6 separate regions of the Homo sapiens genome follow, and all the other regions are linked to region 2. Evidence: promoter capture Hi-C in 16 types of primary human blood cells and fetal thymus (Javierre and others, 2016). All regions are on one chromosome and are shown on one strand. Each heading gives the region's core, a stretch centred on a gene start or on the middle of the fragment in contact. The rest is flanking DNA. Distances are from core to core; before and after follow the strand shown. Region 1 has its middle 11 kb from the start of KRT19. Region 2 holds the start of KRTAP3-1 (keratin associated protein 3-1). Region 3 holds the start of LOC124904004 (a long non-coding RNA gene). Region 4 has its middle 7.7 kb from the start of LINC00974. Region 5 has its middle 12 kb from the start of KRT17. Region 6 has its middle 4.9 kb from the start of KRT16.

Region 1 (2,770 bases), core at 237-2,736, 530 kb before region 2:
CTCTCAGTTTCCTAGTTGGCAAAATGGGAGTGATGACAGTGTCCACAGCATAGGGGAGCTTCGATGATTTAAACAAGTTCATGGATGCCACATACTCGAACAGAGTTAGGCATAGAGGAAGAGGCCAATACATTTAGCCTGTTTTTATAAGATTTCTTTTTTACTGGAACTTCCCACTATCCGCCACCTCCATGTCCTTACTCTAGGCACCATTTACTGTGGCTCACCCTGGGGCTGTGAAGGGCCCCCTCCTCCAGGGCGCCCTCCCTGCTTACCCAGGCCTTGATCCCTCACTCAGGGTGCCCTCCATCTGAGCTCCAGCAGCCCCGGGTCTATGTCCCTCCTCTGACCCTGGCCTGCCTCCTGCCTTTGTCAGGAGCCTACAGTGTTTACCTCTTTCTCTTCCCCGAGCTCAGGTCGTCCCCTGGGGACAGACATCCTGGCTCCAGGGCACCTGCCTGCTGGTTTCTGCTGAGCAGGACACCAGCTGTGGGACTTTAGGCAGGCTGAGGCCCCACTCTCTCTCAGTTTTCTGACCTATATAAACTGCTGGAGGTAGGCTGAAGCACGTGTTTGGGCTTTAAAAGAGGGAGAATCTTTGCTGAAGCAAAATCTCACAGAAAGCTGAGTATATAAAACCAGTGTGAATGCATGTGTGAGAAGGCCTGGGAGTGTGTGAGTGTATGTGTGAGCATGTGTATGCATGTGTGTGCATGTGTGAGTAGGTGTGAATACTGTGTGAGGTGTGTAAGTGTGTGTGAGTGTGGGTGGTCACAGCAGATCCGCTCAGCTCCCACCTCTCTGCTTAGGGCTTAGCAGGCGAGGCTTGAAGATCTCTGGGCTAGAAGATTTCTATGCCCCCATCCTACAAGTGTAGGAGTTTTGTCTAAATCATCTTGCTGGGCTTTTAGATGCTTATTATGTTTCTTTTTCTTTTTCTTTTTTTTTTTGAGACAGAGTCTTGCTCTGTTGCCCAGGCTGGAGTGCAGTGGCTCTATCTCGGCTCACTGCAAGCTCTGCTTCCCAGGCTCAAGCAATTCTTCCTGCCTCAGCCTCCCTAGTAGCTGGGATTACAGGCACTCACCACCATGCCCAGCTAATTTTTGTAGTTTTAGTAGAGATGGGGTTTCGCCATGTTGGTCAGGCTGGTCTTGAACTCCCGACCTCAGGTGATCCACCTGCCTTGGCCTCCCAAAGTGCTGGGATTACAGGTGTGAGCCACTGTGCACGGCCAAGAAGATGCTTACTATGTTTCTTAGCAGTCAAGGTGAGGATAAGGATGAGGTAACATGGACATGGCAGGAATGGGAAACTTGGGGTTCGTGAAGCCTCCTCTCTTCTCCCCATGCTCCAGCCCTTTCTTCTGAAGCCCCAGACATGGATATCCCTGTTGGGATGTGTTTGTTCGGTTTCTGTGTACCAGGTCCTCATTGTATGTTTACTCAGCGAGGACAGATATCTCTGGTGGATCTTCTCATCCCCACAGGCTCCAGCCCTAATCCCAGGCAAGGACTTTGGAGGAAGCACTTTCCTCTCCAACTCCAGCACATTCCACTGGAGGGGGAAGGGTCTTGGCAGGACTGAGCCAGGGGAGGGCAGAAGATGCTTCCTGGCACTGTGGTTCCTTGGTGCATCCCCCGTGCCTCCCTGGTGCTGGCACGGCTGGTAGGCCTTGGGCTGGTAATTGGGCAGCCTGCTGAGGGCTGATGCTGGCACTGGGTAGTTCCTGCCTGGAATGCACGTGAGATGCCTAAGGGAGCCGGTGAGGCTTTGTCTTCTGTTAATACTCTGTGTGTGTGTCTTTGAGGTGGGATAGTGTTCCTTTTCAACTGACTTCAAAAAGCGCTTCAGATACCAGGCCCCTCTCATGGGATCAGGCGTCAGCTGCTCTTCCTTGGGGCAAAGGGGATCTCCCCCGTTCTCCCTCATCTCCCCCTTAGTCCCCAGGCCTGGGCATTCCTGGTATTCCCAGCTCCTGGCAGCCCATCTCGCTATGTGATTCTCTGTGGTTTCTGCCTGATGAATGTTTATCCTGCAGCCGGTTGGAGCCGGGATGAGCAGGGCCTCAGCATCCTGTCTCCAGAGCAGCTCTGAAGCTCCTTCCAGCTGCTGTTAGGAATGCCCCTTCTGCCCCAACCCCCTGCTCACCTGGTCCAGAAACTCACTAACCTGACCACCCCTCCCCCAAGTCTGCAAGGCCCCGCTTGCCAGCCTAAAGCCAGTGGAGCCTGGAATGAGTCAGAATTGAAAATAATAAGCACTCCCCTCAACCCATGCTAGAGGTGAGACATGCTCACTGCTGCTTTTTTGAAAATGTAGAAAACACAGATCTTCATTAGAAATCATCTGTCTCTTGGCTGGGCGCAGTGGCTCACGCCAGTAATCCCAGCAGTTTGGAAGGCTGAGGTGGGTGGATCACTTGAGGTCAGGAGTTTGAGACCAGCCTGGCCAACATGGTGAAACGCTGCCTCTACTAACAATATAAAAATTAGCCAGGTGTGATGGCAGGCACCTGTAATCCCAGCTATTCAGGAGGCTGAGGCAGGAGAATCACTTGAACCCAAGAGGCAGAAGTTGCACTGAGCCAAGATTGCGCCACTGCATTCCAGCTTGGGTGATGGAGTAAGACTCTGTCTCAAAAAAAAAAAAGAAAAAAAAAAAAAAAAAAAAGAAAGTCGCCTCTTTCATACCAACCCCTAACTGTGGGCTCCGTCTGTGAAGGCAGGGCCCAGGTGGACACAGCCCTTGTCCTTCCCCTCCCTCAGCAGGC
Region 2 (2,700 bases), core at 104-2,603:
ATCATCATACTAAATTTTCTACCTTTATCTACTTTTAAAACTTTATTTTTAGAGTTTTAGTGGTTTAGATGAAACTCGGAAATGTCTCTATTCTGGACCACAGAGCCTGGAAGTAAGACAGGGGTGTTCAATGTTTTGGCTTCCCTGGGCCACATTGAAAGAAGAATTGTCTTGGGCCACACATAAAATACACTAACACTAATGACAGCTGATGAGCAAAAAAAGAAAAAAAATCACAAAAAAATCTCATAATGTTTTAAGAAAGTTTATGAATTTGTGTTGTGCTGCATTCAATGCCTTTCTGGGCCACAGGTTGAACAAGCTTGCTGTAAGATGTTGCTAAATCTCCCCAAGTATGTTTCATAAAGCACTGACCTATAGAGCTAATCTCTGAAAACAAACAAAAAGCAGTCCATGGTCAAGTAAGTTTGGAGAAAAATATATGCTATATCTCTGTATTGAAAAGTCATAGAGCATTTTAGCACATTAAAGGCTCCGAGAGGCCCAACAATGAAGAATTCAGCATTTCCCAAACTTACTTACCAGAAAACACTTTCAAGTCCCTTGGAACCAGTGTTCATGGAACTCAGTCTGGTAAATACTGCATCATTTAGCTTCTGAATGGCCCAATACAACCAGCCTTTTGGTTATAAATAATCTCCATTTATAACACAGTTGGATGGAGCTTAAAGGACACCCATCTTTGTCACCCATGAAGGTCTTCATTCCCACCTGCATGTTCTTACCAAGTTATTGTTCAGAGCATATTTGAAAGGAATGCAGAACAAACGATTTGTTATAGCTCTGTTTGAAAGTGCCTCTTTACACAAAACCAAAATCTATTTCTCTATAGATTCTATCCATTCATCTTCATTCAGTTTATTGGAGCCACAAATAATAAATCTAAAATGTTATATCACTTTTTCAGCCTGAGGGCCTAAAGGATCACATAGAACCTGTAGTCACTGGTAGAACAGCAAACAAAAAGCTTACTTGTCCTCTTCATCTGAAAAGTAAACAAAAGAAGTGGGAAACGTTTGCAGATGCCTGGCATACCGAGCCATTATTAGTGAGGGTATAATGATTAGAAGATAATGGCCCGGTACCTTTGAAGACTGGAATGAAGATTTCTGTGTAGTGACACACTGGCAATGTGAATAGTCCTAATTTGACAACAAAACAACCTAAATCTCTTTTATGAGGTGAGCAGTGTATCTTAGGTAATAAACACTTAAGTAATTAGGCATTTTTTATGGAAATAACTATAAACTGAAACATGGGGGAAAAACCCTCAGTAATAGGCTGACGCCCAGGGAGATGGGTATATAAGAGCCAGAGCAGAAGAGAGGAGCATCGAGACACCAACAGACTTCTCTCAACTCAACAAAAACCCACCTCCCATTGCCATGTATTGCTGTGCTCTCCGCTCCTGCAGCGTCCCCACCGGCCCTGCCACCACCTTCTGCTCATTTGATAAAAGCTGCCGCTGTGGAGTCTGCCTACCCAGCACCTGCCCACATGAGATCAGCCTCCTTCAGCCCATCTGCTGTGACACCTGCCCCCCACCCTGCTGCAAGCCTGATACCTATGTGCCAACTTGCTGGCTGCTCAACAACTGTCACCCGACTCCCGGACTGAGTGGGATCAACCTGACCACCTATGTTCAGCCTGGCTGTGAGAGTCCCTGTGAGCCCCGCTGTTAACCAGCCGAGTCTGCACAGGTTCCGTGAGGTGGCTGCCCAATGTCCTCTGCACCATCTGGGCTTCAGCACTCACTACTGCCTACATCAAGGCTAAGGCCATCCCAATCCCCGGGGCCAAGTCTTGATGAATCTTCTTAATTATTTGCACATTTGGGTACCATTGGAGACCTCCCTTCTGTCTTTTAGGCTATTTCATCACTCTTTGAGAAATAACCATTTTGACCATTTGTTAATAAACTTTATTCTGGCTTAGCAAATATGACCTTGTGATTATTTATTTTCATGTCTCCCATTAGGGAAAGTGGAATGCCTACCTAAACCTGAACAGTAGGTTATCACACTATCCAAGATTTACCCCAACAGAATAAGAGCTCTCATAGTGGAATTTATCGAAAAAATAGATACTGGTTATTTGTGATAAGTTAAAAAGTAAAAAATGTGGTAGTTCATTTTATAGAAGCTTTTTATTTAACAGATATTTATTTAATAGATATTATTGGAAGACATCCACTGTGCAAGCACTATGCTAGAGTCTAGAGATTAACAGAATGTTTTAAAAATACTTGATTTTAGTTTCCATTGATTCTGACATTGATTTTTCTTTCTTCCTTAATTGACTAAATGAATTGATCACTGTGCTGGTGTGTATAAATAATTTGATTATCCTAGTCCTCACAGTCATCTGAAATTCTGAGCTCAAAATGCAAAGCAATTTTGAGAAGTGTATATATCCATTTCTTCATATATGCTGTCTTCCAAAACAATCCATTTTTAATTAATGTTAGCATTTATCGAGTATTCATTGATTCCTCAAATGGGGCTTACATTGGTTTACATTAGTCATGACTATGATTAGAAGTTTGCTAGTCTAAGTGACATATAATATCATGACATTGAAATATGCTTAAAATATCAGACTACAGTGTAGTATTTTCTATACACCAGAAATAGTCACACAATTCTGAGAGCAAAAACACACAGTTTCTATTAGAACAAA
Region 3 (2,700 bases), core at 42-2,541, 650 kb before region 2:
GCAGGCATGCCTGTGCCAGGCTGGGGCCACCAAGCACTGGTGGCAGCATAGACCTTGGGGTCTCTCTGTGCACAGCAGGGCCACCAGCAGGGCCAGGGCAAAGGTCTTCATGGTGTGGGAACTGCTCATTCTCGCTCTCTCTGGCCGGGCTGCAAGGCAAGTGGTCCCTTCCCCTGCCCCGCCATCTTTTGGCCTCACCTTCCTCCCTCCCCATGGAAGGCCCACACTCCTGTGTTCCTTGTGGCACTGCCTGGTCACAATCTCAAGTCCTCTTCCTTTCTTCCCTACCTGCACCCCCCACCCCCTAATTCAAGCCTCGGCGTCTCCACCCTCCCCAAGCCATCCCTGCCCCATCAACGAGGGCCAGCTCTATGCCCCTGATGACCTGCCAGCCTCCTGAGCCAGGCTGTGCACTCTCTGACTGCCAGGCCAGCCTCTGTCCTGCTTCCCCTACTTCCTGCTCAGAGCCGGTCATGCTGAGGCTGCGATGGAGACCTGGGAGCAGGAGGCAGCAGGGGATTCCTTGGGCTGTGGCTCTCATCATTGCTGAGAGAGGGAGAAAGGGCCCGGCCATTCCTGACCACAGCCCTGGGCTCCTGCACTCAGCCGGGCACTCACTGCATGCCAGCCTCAGACAGGGCAGTAGGGCCGCCTGGATGTGTACTGAGCCCTTCCAGCCAGGGCTTCAAGGCCGGGTCACAACTCCCGGCTCAGTGCCCAACTCCTCAACCCCTCAGCATCCACCTGCCCAGCTCATGACAGGGAGGACAAAACAAAGGAGGCCCCTGTGGGACTACACAGGCCAGCTCCTGACACTATATAGGTGGGGAAACTGGGGCCCAGAGAGGGGCGGTGACTTGTCCAAATTCATGGGCCCAGAGCTGGGCTCCTAGGCCTCTCTCCCGGGCGGCCTGAGTTAGGCCGTGGTGCCGTCAGTCCCGGAAGGTTGGGACACCCACGGCAGTACCTGACTTGCCGGGGCCCAGCCTCCAGCCCACAGCCCTGCTTTGAGCAGCAAGGGAGGCTGCCCCGCCCCCAGCGTCTCCTCCTGCCTGACTGAGTTTCCCAGAGCCAGCAGAAAGGCAGGGCCGATGCAGGTCTGAATCCGCCCAGGGATCTGGCAGTCCCAGCTGGCTTGCCCTGCCCTCGAGCCCTGGGAGCGGGAAGTGAGCCTCCCCACCTCAAATCCTCCACCTTCCCTGCCACCCACACCTTCAGCCCGGGGCCCAAACATGGCAGGGAGCCAGGCCCCTCACCTCCCTCCTTGGTAACCGAGGCAAACACCCAACACTGGAGACTGTTTGTCCTGCCAACGCTGCACCCCAACCTGAGCCCAGACGCCCTGCCGCAGTTGGGAGAAGCCTGGCTGGGGGAGGGGACGTGGCAGGGGCAGCCAGAACCTGTGGGCTTGGGGACCCTTCCCCTCCACTCCAGTTCCCCAGGAGCTTCTGAGTGAGCACAGGGCAGCGGGGCTGTTGTCTCAGCACCTTTGACTGTGAGGCCCCCAACCTCAGCCTCTGCTCCACCCCTAAGACTGTGCGCCCGGAAGGTGGAGAAGGGCTGGCTGGGGTGAGAGGGTCTGTGCTTGAACTACAGCAGAGAAAGAGAGCAGAGGGAGAAAGTTCTCTCTGGCCAGCCCAGCTGTGGGAGGGCTCAGGGAGGGAGGCCAGTGGGCCCTTTCTTTGCAGGCAGGGAGGGATGGGAGATTCTACCAGCGCCAGACCTGGGGGGCTCTGCCTCCTGATCCCCAGGGTCTGGGTGGGCACCGTGAGGCACTCCAGCGTCGCGTTTGGGGGCTGGCTGGGTGGGCAAGGAGGTGGATGTCAGGGCCTGGGGAGGCTGGGGTAAGGTGGCGCCAGGAGGGGACGGGCAGTTTTTCTGGCCTTCACTGGCCTGTGGTTTCCGCAGTGCAGGGCATGGGACTGTGGGGCGATGGAGCAAGGAGGATGGAGTTTCTGTCCCTGGGAAGCCTCTTGTCTGAGGGGAGACATGCCCCGAGCCTTCAGGGACCGCCTAGTCGGAGGGGGAGACACAGCCCTTGTCCTGGGGAGTTTGGAATAACCGTATTGGGGCCAGGGACAGAGGATGATGGAGTCACCCTGCTCTGCATGGAGCACGGGACCACCCGGCCTCACGGGGCTGGGCAGACGCTTCTGTTTCTTCTGCATGGAGCACGGGATCACCTGGCCTCATGGGGTTAGGCAGACGCTTCTGTTTCTTAGGAAGAGGTCTGTTTGCTTCTCAAATGCTTCCCGGGAACCTCCTCCACCACTGCAGCCCTGCACTGTGGGCAGGAATGTCACTAGCCCCCTTTTACGGATGAGGAAACTGAGGCTCAGGCATCTGGGAAAATGTGCTGTGGGCAGCCCCCCCGGACAGAGCTGTGCTGGCACCCTCCAGACAGTGCAGGAGAAGGGCAGGTCCCACAGAGTCCCTGCTGTTCCCCCAAGTCCTGAGGCCAGGGGGTGCTGTCTCTACTCTCAGTCCCCTGCCAGGACCTGTCCCCTGGTTCAATCCCAGGCAGGCCAGCGGGGAGGGTGGGGTGGGAGACTTGGTTCTGCTGAGGCTGCAGCTTCCCTGGCCCACCTAGGCTGAGTCAGGGCTGGGCAGGAGCCGAGGGCAGCAGCTTTCCCAGGGCCAGCCCGGGCGGCGTCCGCATTCCTCACTTGCAGGGTGCGTCTGGGCTTGGCTGAGCCAGGT
Region 4 (2,700 bases), core at 136-2,635, 550 kb before region 2:
TGGCTCTAGCAAGACACCTGAGCAGTGAGAGTCTGTGATCTCTTTTCTAGCGCTCCGCTGTTAATATGCAACTGTTTACTCTTCTCTGGTTCTTTTTCTGCTACCTGCTGTCTTCCTCATCTACCATTTTACATATCTTTTTATTTATTTTATTTATTATTATTATTATTTTTTGAGACGGAGTCTCACTCTGTCGTCCAGGCTGAAATGCAGTGGCACGATCTCAGCTCAATCCAACCTCTACCTCCCGGGTTCAAGCGATTTTCTGCCTCAGTCTCCTGAGTAGCTGGAACTACAGGCACCTGCCACCACGCTGAGCTAATTTTTGTATTTTTAGTAAAGACGGGGGTTTCACCATGTTGGCCAGACTGGTCTTGAACTCTTGATCTCAGGTGATCCACTTGCCTCGGCCTCCCAAAGTGCTGGGATTACAGGTGTGAGCCACAAGGCCTGGCCCATTTTATGTATCTTTTCTCTACCTCAATTTGGGAAATTCTCCACCTTAAGTGTGAAGCTCCCCAAGGGAGAGGTCAGAAACTTGCTTTTCCGAGCTCACCTGCATCTAGGGCATGGGCCCCTGACAGCCCTGCCACTCAGGTGCGCCCGCACAAGACGTTTTTTTTTTTTTTTTAACCATGGCACCCCATTGGAGTGAAGGACTTTGATTTTGATTTAAAGGAGGTGCTGAGTGGAATTTTTTATGGCAGGAACAAGGTTGGGCAGAGATATGTGATTTTTTGAGGAAGCAATAGCAGCGGCTCTGGCAAAGACATGCAGTGCCCATCATCCATAGTTTGAGCTTCAATTTTGGTGGCCAGAAGTGACAGCAGTGGTGTGTTCCTAGAGCAATCCTTGAGTGTGATTTGGGGAATTTTTCTGTTTGCATACCCTCCAAGTTTGATTCTCTGCACATCCTGGAAAAGATGCCCAGTAGTTGCTCATTATTTCACAGGGAATACATTCAAAGATCCTGACTGGATGCCCAAAACTGTGGATAGCACCTAAATCTATCTACACTATGCTTTTTCCTACACATTCATACTTAAGATACAGTTTACTTTATAAATTAGGCAGACCAAGAGATTAACAACAATAACTAATAAAATAGAATCGTTATAACAATATACTGTAATAAAAATTATTTGAATGTGGTCTCTCTCTTTCAAAATATCTTATCATACTGTAGATCTTAGCAACCTCAGCGTATGGTTTTTTTCTTTCCGTAGTAAGTTTTGAACTGTCATCTTTTCTCTTAAAGAAAGCATTTTGCTGGCTGGGCGCGGTGGCTCATGCCTGTGATCCCAGCACTTTGGGAGGCCAAGGCTGGAGGATCACCTGAGGTCAGGAGTTTGAGACCAGCCTGACCAGTATGGAGAAACACTGTCTCTTCCAAAAATACAAAATTAGCCAGGCATGGTGGCGCATGCCTGTAATCTCAGGTACTTGGGAGGCTGAGGCAGGAGAATCGCTTGAACCCGGGAGGCAGAGGTTGAGGTAAACCGAGATCACGCCATTGTGCTCCAGCCTGGGAAACAAGAGCAAAACTCCTTTTAAGAAAAAAAAAAAAGCACTTTGTGGCTTCCCTTTGGCAAATCTGAATTATCAGCATCACTGCTCTTGCACTTTGGGGTCGTAATTAAGTAAAATAAGGGAACACAAGCACGGCAATACTGCAACAGTTGATCTGACAACTGAGACAGCTACTAAGCGACGACTAGTGGGTGGGTGGTGCATAGAGCATGGAGAGCTGGACAAAGGGATGATTCCTGTCCTGGGCTGGACAGAGTGGGGCAGTGTGAGATTTCATCATGCTCTTCAGGGCAGCACACTTCAAAACTGACAAATTGTTTATTTCTGGAATTTTCCATTTAATATTTTTGGATGACAGTTGACCACAGGTAACTGAAGCTGTGGAAAGCGAAACCATGGATAAGGGGAATGACCGTGTTGCTTTCTCTGCAGGTGAAAGCATATTTATTCTGGTACTCTTTGTTTATTGGGATAAAGAAAAAAGAATTTCCCACAGCAGGTGCCAGGGTCAATGGTGATCTGCTTTAGAAAAGGGACACAATCTGGATCAACGACTGCTGTTGGAACAACCATGTGATAAATTGTAAAATAATTCATGGCTATTCTCTAACATCTGTTCATGTTCTGCACAGAAAAACTAGGCAAGTTAACCCTAAATTTATCATTTTTTTTTTGAGACAGGGTCTCTCTCTGTTGCCCAGGCCGGTGGGCAGTGGTACAATCACAGTTCACTGAAGCCTTGACCTCCCAGGTTCAAGCAATCCTCCTACCTCAGGCTCCCAAGTAGCTGGGACTACAAGCGTGTGCCACCACGCCAGACTAATTTTTGAGGTTTTTTTTTTTTTTTTTTTTTTTTTTAAACTAGAGACAGGGATCTCACTCTATTGCCAGGGCTGATCTTACATTCCTGTGTTCTCTCCCCATCTTGCCCTTCCAAAGTGCAGGGATTACAGGCATGAGCCACCACTCCTGGCCCATCAAATCTTTCATGTGGCACTAATCTCTGTCATTCCCTTAGAGATGTAGTGTTGCTGGTCCTTTTTCTAAACCACGTAATCCTTACTGGTAAGGATCAGGATCCTTTTACTGACTATGTCTAGTCCACTCCAGACACTGGGAAATAACCACAGGATTGGTCTGGGATACCACTGGGCTCATGAGAAGCAAACT
Region 5 (2,700 bases), core at 116-2,615, 630 kb before region 2:
ACTTTCCCTGACCACCTGATACTGACCCTTTTCCTTGAGGGGAAGGGTAGGTGGCCATGTCCCTTTCCTGGGACCTTGTCTCCTCCCCAGTCACTGCTCAGGCTCCATGACCCTAACAATTCAGCAAGCACTCACAGAGCACCTGCTGCATACAGCCCGCGCTGGTTCTGGGCAGGGGTGTGGGGTATGGGGTGGGCACCATCCTAAGGGTTGACAGTTAATCCTTGCGGGGGCTCGTAGGAGCCAAGGCCAGCTGGGCAGACGGGGCATGACCTTGTCTTTTTGTTTTTTCTTTTGTTTTTTTGAGATGGAGCCTCGCTCTGTTGCCCAGGCTGGAGGGCTGTGGGACGATCTCAGCTCACTGCAACCTCCACCTCCCGGGTTCAAGCGATTCTCCTGCCTCAGCCTCCTGACTACCTGGGATTACAGGTACTACCACGCCTGGCTTATTTTTGTATTTTCAGTAGAGTCGGGGTTTCACCATGTTGGCCAGGCTGGTCTCAAATTCCTGACCTCAAGTGATCTGCCTGCCTCGGCCTCCCAAAGTGTTGGGATTACAGGTGTGAGCCACTGATCCTGTCCAGACCTTGTCAACCTTGTCAATATCAATATGCATCTATTGGCTGGGCGTGGTGACTCACTCCTATAATCCCAGCACTTTGGGAGGCAGAGGCAGGAGGACTGCTTGAGCCCAGGAGCCTGAGACCAGCCTGGGTAATATAGTGAGACCCCATCTCTATTTAAAGTAAAAAAAAATGCATCTATTGAACATCTCCTTTCCATAGGGCCCCAGATCATTCTACGCCCTCTGCCTCCCCACAACATAGTAGGGGTGATATTAGGGGACACTGTCCCCAAACCCTAGCTCTGCTCAAATTCCAGGCAGGTCCTGTCTGTGCTGCGCTCTCCAGCATGCTGGCTTTTCTGCACTCTCTGCAGAGGAGACTGAGGGGGAGTCAAGGTGGGGCTGGCACCCAGGGCACTGGGGGAAGCTTCAAGTTCTCCCAGCCACCTCCCTGGGCCTCCCCCTCTCCCACCTGCGCTGGGCTCCAGCAGCCTCTGGGGCTGGAAGAGCCATTGGACCTCTCCTTCTTTACCCCTTTGTCTTCCATGGGGGCCAAGCTGCTGCCGCTGCCGGGGCTGCAGGCCTGGGCTGCCCCTTGCGGGTGCCAGGGATCTCTCCCTGCTGGGGGTGGAGGACAGGCCCAGACAGGATGTGCCACAGCCCAGAGGACCTCTGTGTGGCCCTCCAGCCGGCCCCTGTCAAGCCTTCCTCCCTGGCTGGGAGAGTGGGAGCTGCCGAGGCCCTGGCTTCAGGCCCGGCTCTGATGCCAACATTGGGTTGCCCGACTGCCCGCTGCTCAAGCACCCTGTGTCTTGGTGTCCTCAAGGCACTGTTGTGAGGGTCTCAGGAGGAATGTTTGCATTTTCCTAGCCCTGGCCAGGGAGTGGCCCCACGCTCTGGAGGGCCAGGGAGGCCTTCCTGGGGTCCCACTTCTATCTCTGCTGAGATCTGAGCTGTGCCCTCCTGCCCGGCTGGCCCAGCTGGCCCGGCCTGTCCTCAGCATGTGAGGCTTCTCTGGGTTGGGGGCTAGAGGGGGATTCACAGGCAGTAGAGCCTCTAACGAGCAGTAGCAAAGGGGCCTGGGGGGGGGGTCAGTGGCGTGGGGAAACTGAGGCCCAGAGAGGAAGAGGAGCAGGCTCGCGGCCCAAAGCCTGTCAGGGGTGAGGAAGCTTGTGGGGGCTAAATGGTGGTATTGGGGGTTGGAGGCCTTGGTGATTTTAGAGGCAGAAAGAAGAGTAATAAACTCTCTGCTCCTTCAAATTGGGCCTCAAGACTAAGGTCTGGGTACTCTGGAAGTGGGGTTCCCAGGCAGGGTGAGCACTGGCGGTGTGGGCTCTACGGGGAGGCAGAGGGGTGGTGGCACCCCACGACCTGGCCCCCTCCCTAGGGCCCTGGCTTTGCCCCACATTTGCTGCTGGAAGGCGGGGCAGTCCCTTTTGTGAGCCCAGAGTGAGGCCCACCTGGGTAGCCCAGCTGGCCTAGGGGAGGATGGGGCCTGGGAAGGGAGGGGTTGTTAGGAGAGGATGGGGATGGGGAGGGTCTTGGTTTCGTGTCTCTTCGTGTGTGAGTGCCTGCTGGTGCAGTCTTGACTCTGGCGGCTCAGGTGAGCACGGGTTTTACTGGGTCTCTCTCCTCCCCGAAGACAGTCCTGGATTGCCAGGAAGTCCTTCCAGATGTCTAACCTCGTGCTCATGGTGGTCTGACCTTGCTCTCTAGCCTTGGTTTTGAACCTCCCCCCATCCCCGCCCAGCACCTTCACAGGCTGGGCGGGAGCAGTAAAATCAGGGCTCAACCGCTCTCTTCCAGATAGCTCCTGCCATTCCCAGCTGGCACAGTCCCCAGCTGGCACTTTCCGTGAGAGACCACCCACTATCTGAGCAGGAAGTCTTTCCAGCAGTGTGGTCTCATCTGGGAGCTCTGGGCCACATGGAAAACCCAACTCCCTCCCTGTCCCCGTATGCGGGCAGAGAGCCCAGGCCACCCATGCACTTCTCTCCCCTCTCCTGTTCCGCGGGCCCTGGCTGCCCTGGGAAGCTCCACATTCAGACAGGCCTGGTGCAGACGCCGGTGTCCTGGCAGCACCTAAATCATTAGTGCCGCGGAGATTAGGATACTAATCTCCTTGTTGGGTGGAG
Region 6 (2,700 bases), core at 138-2,637, 600 kb before region 2:
TTCTCCTCACACCCCATCAACTCCTCCTTCCTCATTTCCATCAGCTGGTGAATTGCGTGCTGATGAGCACCCTAGGAAACACCTGCTGCCCCATGGCCATTGCCATGTTTAGATCTTCTTCCTCTCTCCCTAGACCTGGGCACAGCCTAACTGGGTCCCCTTTGAGAGTCAATCTCATCCACATTAAATTTCCACTGAATGATTTCCACCAGAATGTGGTCAAGATCAAGAACAAGGGTGAGATCAGGACCCCCCTGCTTAACAGCCTGCGATGGATCCCATTCCCCTGCAGCACTCAGCCTTCAGTCTCAACTCAGCTTGGTGTCCTCCTGCCCCTCCCAGCTCCAAACCCCTGAGTCACCCCTACCTGACTGAGATATGGCCCATACCTCTCAGTTGCCGTTCCTTCTTCCTGGATGCCTTCCATGTTTTAACTATTTAAATTAAAAAAATGTTATGTATGTACAACATCATAAGACTTTTTTTTTTTTAGACGGAGTCTTGCTCTGTCGCCCAGGCTGGAGTGCAGTGGCGTGATCTCGGTTCACTGCAAGCTTCACCTCAAGGGTTCATGCCATTCTTCTGCCTCAGCCTCCTGAGTAGCTGAGACTACAGTCACCTGCCACCATGCCTGGCTAATTGTTTTTTGTATTTTTAGTAGAGACAGGGTTTCACCTTATTAGCCAGGATGGTCTCGATCTCCTGACCTCGTGATCTGCCTGTCTTGGCCTCCCAAAGTGTTGGGATTACAGGCGTGAGCCATGGCGCCCAGCCAAGACTTTTTTTTTTTTTTTTTTTATTCTTTAAGTTCTAGGGTACATGTGCACAATGTGCAGGTTTGTTACATAGGTATACAAGTGCCATGTTGGTTTGCTGCACCCATCAACTCATCATTTACATTAGGTATTTCTCCTAATGCTATCCCCCCACAGCCCCCCACCCCCGACAGGCCCCGATGTGTGATGTTCCCCACCCTGTGCCCATGTGTTCTCATTGTTCAACTCCCACCTATGAGTGAGAACATGTGATGTTTGGGTTTCTGTCCTTGTGATAGTTTGCTTAGAATGATGGTTTCCAGCTTCATCCATGTCCCTGCAAAGGACATGAACTCACCCTTTTTTATGGCTGCATAGTATTCCAATGTGTATATGTGCCACATTTTCTTAATCCAGTCTATCATTGATGGACATTTGGGTTGGTTCCAAGTCTTTGCTATTGTGAATAAGACTTTCTTTCTTCTTTTTTTTTTTTTTAATGAAAAAGCCATCCCCAGACTGGATATCACAGCTCTGTTCCCGCCTCCCCCTTTCAACTTCAGCTGTTTCTTTTGGGATTTGTCTCCTTACTTCTAAATAACAGGCTTTACCTTGTTACTGTTTGATTTTTGTGTTTCAGTTTTTAATCGCTTGACTTCTGGCTGTGAAGGATGAGGATGTAGATCTGTTATACAGCATTGTGCCTGCCCACTTCTTTTTTAAATATCTTCTTCCCACCTTCTCAATATATTCATATTTTTGTTAGATAAATGTTTACATTATTAAGACTATTTAAATGTTATTCATAGTCAAACCATATATTATACTATGTTACATTTTATGCTATATTAAATTTCCTTGGAATAAATATCTCCTTTTCAATTTGCCTAAACTTTCTATGTATTGATCATTAATTTGTTTCCTGATTCACTGCTGGAAGTATAAATCTCCTCAGTATTTTAGAACCCTGGGTGTTCTATCAATTTCATCCTCATGAAGATGTGTCTCCTAGGGCCTTCTGTCCTGCTCTTGTCTGTTCTGGGTGCTGTCTGGGTCTTCTGCTCAGCTGTGATCCTGGAATCTCTCTTCACCATCATCCTGAAATTCCTTCTTTTTCCTGTGTTGCATTCCTTGTTTTCTGGATCCAATGTCTTCCTCCTTCCTGTTTTTATTTTTCCCTTTGTTTTAGTGAAGCACATCCTCAAGTAGTTTCCTGGAAAGGGAGTTATCGGGGTTAAATTTTTTGAGACCATTTGTGTCAAAAAGATCTTCAGTTTATCTTCACTCTTGACTGATAGTTTGGCTGGGTATAGAATTCTAGCTTGGAAATCATTTGCACTCAGCGTCTGAAGGTACAGTTTCACTGTTTCTTGGCTTCTGGTGTTGCTGTTGAGAAGTCTTATGCCACGTTGACTCGAGATCATTTCTTATTATCCTGTTCCCACTCTCCTCCCTAGAAGCTTTTCAGTTCTTCTCTTTCTCTCCAGCAGGCTGAAATACCATGTGTTGAATTGATGCAGCTGTAACTTCATCCACCGGCTGGACTCTAGCAGAAACTTCTAATGTGGGAGCTCATGTTGTTCAATTCTGGCAAATTTTCGTGTTTCATGATTTCCTCCCTCCATTTTCTCTCTTTCTGAAATGGCTCTTTTTCCTGGGTATTCTGTTTTATTTTCCATCTTGTCTTTTCTTTGTTGTTGTTGTTGCTGTTTTCTGAGAAATTCTTTAACTTTGACCTCTAACTCCATTATTCAGAGTTTTAAAAAATCTGCTGTATTTGGCCGGGCACAGCAACTCATGCCTGTAATCCCAGCAGTTTTGGAGGCCAAGGTGGTTGGATTGCTTGAGCCCAGGAGTTCGAGACCAGCCTGGGCAACATAGTGAGACCCTGTCTCTACAAAACATACAAAAATTAGCTGGATGTGGTGGCTTGTGCCTGTAGTCC

What was found. The method cuts DNA at HindIII sites, captures the fragments that hold promoters and counts their contacts. A CHiCAGO score of 5 or more calls a contact.
Region 1: a fragment that was not itself captured here is called in contact with the fragment with the promoter of KRTAP3-1 in region 2 in 15 of 17 cell types (naive CD4 T cells, total CD8 T cells, total CD4 T cells and 12 more); the score reaches 14.9 in naive CD4 T cells.
Region 3: a contact is called between a fragment that was not itself captured here and the fragment with the promoter of KRTAP3-1 in region 2, in 4 of 17 cell types (total CD4 T cells, total CD8 T cells, naive CD4 T cells and 1 more). The highest score is 6.9, in total CD4 T cells.
Region 4: a fragment that was not itself captured here is called in contact with the fragment with the promoter of KRTAP3-1 in region 2 in 9 of 17 cell types (naive CD8 T cells, total CD4 T cells, naive CD4 T cells and 6 more); the score reaches 9.8 in naive CD8 T cells.
Region 5: a fragment that was not itself captured here is called in contact with the fragment with the promoter of KRTAP3-1 in region 2 in 6 of 17 cell types (non-activated CD4 T cells, total CD8 T cells, naive CD4 T cells and 3 more); the score reaches 6.8 in non-activated CD4 T cells.
Region 6: a fragment that was not itself captured here is called in contact with the fragment with the promoter of KRTAP3-1 in region 2 in 3 of 17 cell types (total CD4 T cells, total CD8 T cells and naive CD4 T cells); the score reaches 5.5 in total CD4 T cells.

Annotation. Positions count from the first base shown.
Region 1 is chr17:41,538,136-41,540,905 of GRCh38, reverse strand. No RefSeq gene overlaps it. Among named protein-coding and RNA genes, the nearest start is that of KRT19, 11 kb to the right of the region's middle. RefSeq lists an enhancer at 1,113-1,733. The HindIII fragment of the contact is 5,266 bases long and covers 1-2,770 here.
Region 2 is chr17:41,007,781-41,010,480 of GRCh38, reverse strand. It overlaps KRTAP3-1 (keratin associated protein 3-1), which reads left to right and starts at 1,353. Exons shown (of 1, transcript NM_031958.2): 1 at 1,353-1,960. The coding sequence starts at 1,407. The coding sequence ends at 1,703. The HindIII fragment of the contact is 1,175 bases long and covers 991-2,165 here.
Region 3 is chr17:41,654,275-41,656,974 of GRCh38, reverse strand. It overlaps LOC124904004 (a long non-coding RNA gene), which reads left to right and starts at 1,841. Exons shown (of 2, transcript XR_007065756.1): 1 at 1,841-2,700. RefSeq lists an enhancer at 2,030-2,700. The HindIII fragment of the contact is 2,956 bases long and covers 1-2,700 here.
Region 4 is chr17:41,560,801-41,563,500 of GRCh38, reverse strand. No RefSeq gene overlaps it. Among named protein-coding and RNA genes, the nearest start is that of LINC00974, 7.7 kb to the right of the region's middle. The HindIII fragment of the contact is 7,476 bases long and covers 1-2,700 here.
Region 5 is chr17:41,635,446-41,638,145 of GRCh38, reverse strand. It overlaps the pseudogene KRT42P. Among named protein-coding and RNA genes, the nearest start is that of KRT17, 12 kb to the right of the region's middle. The HindIII fragment of the contact is 742 bases long and covers 995-1,736 here.
Region 6 is chr17:41,606,493-41,609,192 of GRCh38, reverse strand. No RefSeq gene overlaps it. Among named protein-coding and RNA genes, the nearest start is that of KRT16, 4.9 kb to the left of the region's middle. The HindIII fragment of the contact is 1,661 bases long and covers 557-2,217 here.